Linked DNA regions of Homo sapiens: region 1 is linked to region 2. The links are contacts of gene promoters, found by promoter capture Hi-C in human tissues and cell types (Jung and others, 2019). All regions are on one chromosome and are shown on one strand. The core of a region is centred on a gene start or on the middle of the fragment in contact, and the rest is flanking DNA. Distances in the headings are between cores, read along the strand shown.

Evidence for each region. The method cuts DNA at HindIII sites, captures the fragments that hold promoters and counts their contacts. A contact is called where the count stands out against the background at its distance.
Region 1: a contact is called between a fragment that was not itself captured here and the fragment with the promoter of ENPP7 in region 2, in 6 of the 25 tissues and cell types used here (IMR-90 fibroblasts, aorta, dorsolateral prefrontal cortex and 3 more).

What each region holds. Positions count from the first base shown.
Region 1 is chr17:79,769,114-79,771,813 of GRCh38, reverse strand. No RefSeq gene overlaps it. Among named protein-coding and RNA genes, the nearest start is that of CBX2, 7.7 kb to the left of the region's middle. The HindIII fragment of the contact is 8,360 bases long and covers 1-2,700 here.
Region 2 is chr17:79,729,493-79,732,192 of GRCh38, reverse strand. It overlaps ENPP7 (ectonucleotide pyrophosphatase/phosphodiesterase 7), which reads right to left and starts at 1,250. Exons shown (of 6, transcript NM_178543.5): 1 at 801-1,250. The coding sequence starts at 1,053. RefSeq lists an enhancer at 2,451-2,700. The HindIII fragment of the contact is 31,927 bases long and covers 1-2,700 here.

The sequences.
Region 1 (2,700 bases), core at 103-2,602, 40 kb before region 2:
TATTGCCCAGGCTGGAGTGCCGTGGCACGATCTTTGCTCACTGCAACCTCCACCTCCCAGGTTCCAGTGATTCTTCTGCCTCAGCCTCCCGAATATCTGGGATTACAGGCACGCGCCACCATGCCTGGCTAATTTTTATATTTTTTAGTACAGACGGGGTCTTGCCATGTTGGCCAGGCTGGTCCCGAACTCCTGAGCTCAGATGATCCACCCGCCTTGGCCTCTCAAAGTGCTGGGATTACAGGCGTGAGTCACTGCACCCAGCCATGATGCTAATTTTTTTTTTTTTTTGGAGACAGGATCTTGCTCTGTTGCCCAGGTTGGAGTGCAGTAGTGTGATCATAGCTCACCACAGCCTTGACCTCCTGGACTCATGTGATCCTCTTGCCTCAGTCTCCAAGGTAGCTGGGGTTACAAGAGGTGTGCCACGAGACCTGGCTACTATTTTTATTTTTATAGAAATTGGGGGTCTTACTGTGTTGCCCAGGCTGGTCTTGAACTCCCGGGCTCAAGAGATCCTCCTGCCTTCACCTCCCAGAGGGCTGGGGTTGCAGGTGTGAGCCACTGTGCACCGAAATGATGTTAATTTAACTCACAAGGCACAGAAGCGTTTTTGGCAGCCTCAGCTCCTATGGCCTGGCGTGTCCTCGCTGGACTCTGTGTATTTGGAAAGAATGGGCTCCTGATGCTGGCAGGGATGGCTACTGTCTTTTGAGGCACGTTTATAGGATATTCCTCCTTGAAGCTGAAACCTTGTACTTTCCATGTCCCTGCTGCATCAGCAGGAAAGGCTGCCACTGACCTCACATTCATATTTCTTTTTTTTTTATTATTATTATTATACTTTAAGTTTTAGGGTACATGTGCACAATGTGCAGGTTAGTTACATATGTATACATGTGCCATGCTGGTGTGCTGCACCCATTAACTCGTCATTTAGCATTAGGTATATCTCCTAAAGCTATCCCTCCCCATATTTCTTTTTCTTTTCTTTTTTTTTTTTTTTTTTTGAGATGGAGTCTAGCTCGGTCGCCCAGGCTGGAGTGCAGTGGTGCTAGCTCAGCTCACTGCAACCTCTGCCTCCTGGGTTCAAGTGATTCTCCTGCCTCAGCCTCCCGAGTAGCTGGGATTACAAGCGTACACCACCACGCCCAGCTAATTTTTATATTTTTAGTAATGGAGTTTCACCACGTTGGCCAGGCTGCTCTCAAACTCCTGACCTCAAGTGATCCTCCCACCTCGGCCTCCCAAAGTGCTGGGACTACAGGCATGAGCCACTGTGCCCGGCCTCACATTCATATTTCTTTGGGTTCAGTACAAGTTGCATCCTGCGGTCACTGCCTTTAGAGGCCCCTGTCCTGTGTGAATGCTGCTTATGGGGACATGTGCCCCCCAGGATGGCGAATCTCAGCCCTCTGAAGCAGGGGAAGTAAGACAAAGTAGTGAGATTGCATCCAGAGAGGAACGGGCGAGGGGAATTCAGGATTGAGGCGTGGTCATGAGTCCTTCTCACACTGCTCCTGGCAGCGCTATGAGAGGTGGTGGCACAGGACATTTGTAGGATGCCCTGGAGGAGAAGGGCGGGCAGGAACTGGGCCAGCAACGATGACAAAGCACAGTCTCCAGCCACAGGAAAGCAAAGGGAATGACAAAAGTACTAGCAGAACCCCCAGCCCAACCTAGACCACGGGGTGCTCCAGAGAAACAGCCAATAGATAGAAATATCAGCATTCAAAGAGATTTACTGAAGGCACTGGCTGATGTGATGGTGGGGTCTGGTGAGGCGAGTCCCAAACTGCAGAGCAAGCCTTCCTCAGAGGCAGCCGGGGCGACTCAGACAGGAGCTGGCGCTGCGGTCCACAGGCGGAGTTGCTTCTTTTCAATGAATTGATCAGACCCACCCAGATTATTCGGGGTAAGCTCCTTCACCTCAAGTCACAGCAGCGACTGGATTTGCGTTTGCCTGAGTACCTGGGGGCTGTGGCCTAGCCGGGGAGAACACCTTAGCCTGACGGATCATCCTTGGGCTCAGCTCCTCAGTGCTCCTGCTGGTCATGCCGGCGTCACTCACATGGCTTCGGCTTGGCTGGGGCTGGATGGCCTGGGATGGCCTTTCTTGCGTGGCTGGTGCTTGGTGCTGGTTGTTGGCGGGGCTGTCTGTCTGCAGCAGGCCAGCGTGGATCCTTTCTTCGGTGGTTCCAATGGAAGCTGGGGTCCCATGTTTGCTGACGTCCCAGGGGCCACAGCAAGTTGCATGGAAGCCATGTGAGGTAAACTCCAACCTCTTGACCAGAGGAGTAGCAAATGAGTGACCATACAGGATCTGGAAGAATTTGTGGCCACTTTGGGGGTCATTTGTACCCTCTCCAGAGGGCAAGATCAGAAAACAGTTTAGCAGCCACTGAGCCTAGCACTGCTTGGATTGTGTTAAATGAGTGGAAGATTCTTAATTTCCTAGACTTGCAGGATGGGGCACTGGCTATTCCCGTCGTGTATTTCCTCCGGCTGCCACAACAAAGTTCCATGCCCTGGGAGCCCTTCTAGGGGCTCCCAGAAGTTAATTTTCTCACAGTTCTGGAGGCTGGAAGTTTTAGATCAAGATGTGGGCAGGGTTGGTTTCTTCTCTCCTTGGCTGTAGACGGTGTCTTCTCCCTGCGTCCTCATAGGGTTGTCCCTCTGTGCACATCTGTGTCCTCATCT
Region 2 (2,700 bases), core at 1-2,500:
CAATCCTCCTGCCTTGGCCTCATATATATATATATGTGTGTGTATATATATATATATATACATATATATATGTATATATATATGTATATATATATTATATGCAGTCTTGCTTTGTCACCCAGGCTGGAGTGCAGTGGTGCGATCTCAGCTCACTGCAACTTCCACCTCCTGGGTTCATGCAATTCTCCTGTCTCAGCCTCCCAAGTAGCTGGGATTACAAGCATGCACCATCATGCCTGGCTAATGTTTGTATTTTTAGTAGAGATGGGGTTTCGCCATGTTGGCCAGGCAGGTCTCGAACTCCTGACCTCCAGTGATCCGCCCGCCTCAGCCTCTCAAAGTGCTGGGATTACAGGCGTGGGCCACTGAGCCTGGCCCCATATTTGGCTTTTTAAAAACCTATGTCTGTATTGTCTACAGCCTGGGCAGATCTGTCAGGGAGGTGTTGGGTGGAAAATGGAAAGGATGGAAGGGAGAGGGAGAGGCTGACACAGCCAGCTGGAGGGGCGGGCAGGGGAGGGGAGCCATGGGAGCCAGCGGGGAGCCCGCCACACTCCCCTCCTCCTGAAGCCTTCTGGGGTTGCTGCCCTGGCTGTGGCCACGGGTTTAAGGACCCCCCTGGTCATTTTTCTTTGTCCCGGATCTGTTGCTACCAACGGTGAGGATTCCTAATGGTCCCCTTGGCTCTGTCCTGTGCCTGGAGCAAGGACCTCTCCCCTTTATCCTGCACGACACGGCTCTGTGCCATCTGGTTTCTCAGGCCCTCCCACCCCCAGGCCCCGTCACAGGGCAGTACTCACCGGTGACCAGGGTGAAGTGGCAGGGGCTGGTCATGGTGACAAAGGCGGGGGTCATGTAGCGTGCCTTCACCCCGTCTCGGGCCATGGCGTCCAGGTTGGGGGTGTCCACGTCCTGGTCGTAGTTCCAGCGGAAGCCGTCGAAGGACACCAGGAGCAGCTTGTTCTGGGAGCCCTGACTTTGTACCGGTGCTCCGGCCCCGGGAGCCAGGAGCGTGGCCAGAGCCACAGTGAGGAGGACGGCCGGGCCTCTCATGCTGGGCCTTCCAGATGGACAGGCACACAGGGTGCACAGGGCTGGCTCCTGCCGAGGAGGACAAAGTCCCAGGGTCACCCGGGCTGATCTCATCCCGTGCGCCTTTGGAATGTGGCTGTGCACATCCCCGGGTCGAACCTCGGGAGTGGGCTCCCCAGCCGTGTCAGTGCCACCCCTGGTCCCAGCCTCACGTGCGTGGGGTGGCATCAACTTGAGCATCTGCCTTTATTGCCAGCCGCGCCCTTGGTGCTCCAGGCTCCTCCCCTCCCTCCCCAGAGTGGGGACAGTGACCCAGGGCTCAGAGCACAGCAGGAGCCCATTCCACTGGGAAAGTCGTGCCCTCTCCCTCTCCCATAGCAACAGGTGGTCCCTCTGTCCCAGCTCACCCTGACCCCAGGGGACCCAGGTGAGGCTGGGGTGGGACCCCCTCTCCAGGCCTTTAGTGGTGCATGGGCCTCAGGCCTGCCTGGGTGAGGGCCTGTGGGGTGGGCTTCCCATGGTCAGGGCCAGGACCAAGCCTGGGTCACAGCATGGCCTTGTCCGGGGGGAACCCCAGGCTGGGTGCCTGTTCTCCTCCTGGTCCTGTTAAGGGGCTCCTTGAGCGTGGTGAGCAGACCGGGAACCGGATGGCTCCAGACCAGCGTCCTGTGGGCCTTCCTTCTTGGGATGCTTCCTTCTTGGGATGCTTCCTTCTTGGGAATTTCAGAGGGTGCCTGGGGCTCGGACGTTCTTGCTTGATGACAACAAGGGGTCAGAAGAGGGGGACTCCCTTGTTACCATAGGCACATGAAGGGTGGGAGAGGAACCCCTGGATTCAGTGTGCGGTTCTCCCTCCCTCTCCCCCATCTCTCCTTCCCCTTCTCTTATTTTCTCTCTCTTTCTCTGTCTCTCTCCCTCTTTCCTTCCCTGTATGTCTCTGTCTCAGTTCCTATTAAGCACGTTCTGTGTGCCAGGCATGGTTCTAGGTTCTGGGGACACAGAAGTGAATGAGACAGACAATGTTCCTCGTGGCCTCCATTCGAGTTGGGGACACAGAAGATAAAATGAACAAACAAGAAAAAAAGAGTTTCCCAAAAGAAGGGAAGGCAGGAAGACGTGATGGAGAGGCTGGCGGGGTGGGTGGGCGGCACGCAGTGGTGGCTGGTGGGGTTTCGCTGAGAGGATGGTGGAGGCCAGTGACTCTGGGGGACCATGAGCTAGGGGAGCGGGCATGGGGCAGGTGGCAGGGGTGGCAGGGCCAGTCCCGTAGGGCAGGTGGCGGTGATTCTCATGCCAGGCAGTGGAAGCCAGGCGGGGGTTTTAAGCAAGAGAGTGACATGAACTGATCTAATGCTAAAATATACTCTCCATTTGTGGGTGAAGGATAGACCAGAACGAGGGCAGAATGGACACTGGGTGCTCCCTGGAGAGGTGACTGCCTGTGTCTGAGCAAGAGCTATTGGTGGCCCGGACCAGGGTGGTGGCTGTGGGATGGGGCTGGGTTTGAGGCGGATCCTGGAGGTTTTGCTGGGAGGTGGTGCGCTGGATTGCATGGTGGGAGGTGGTGCACTGGATTGCGCGGTGGGAAGACGGAAGGGCATGGTTGGAGGTATTGTCACAATTTCAATCTGGAGCCACACACCTGCCGACAGTGGCCCCGGCCTTCCT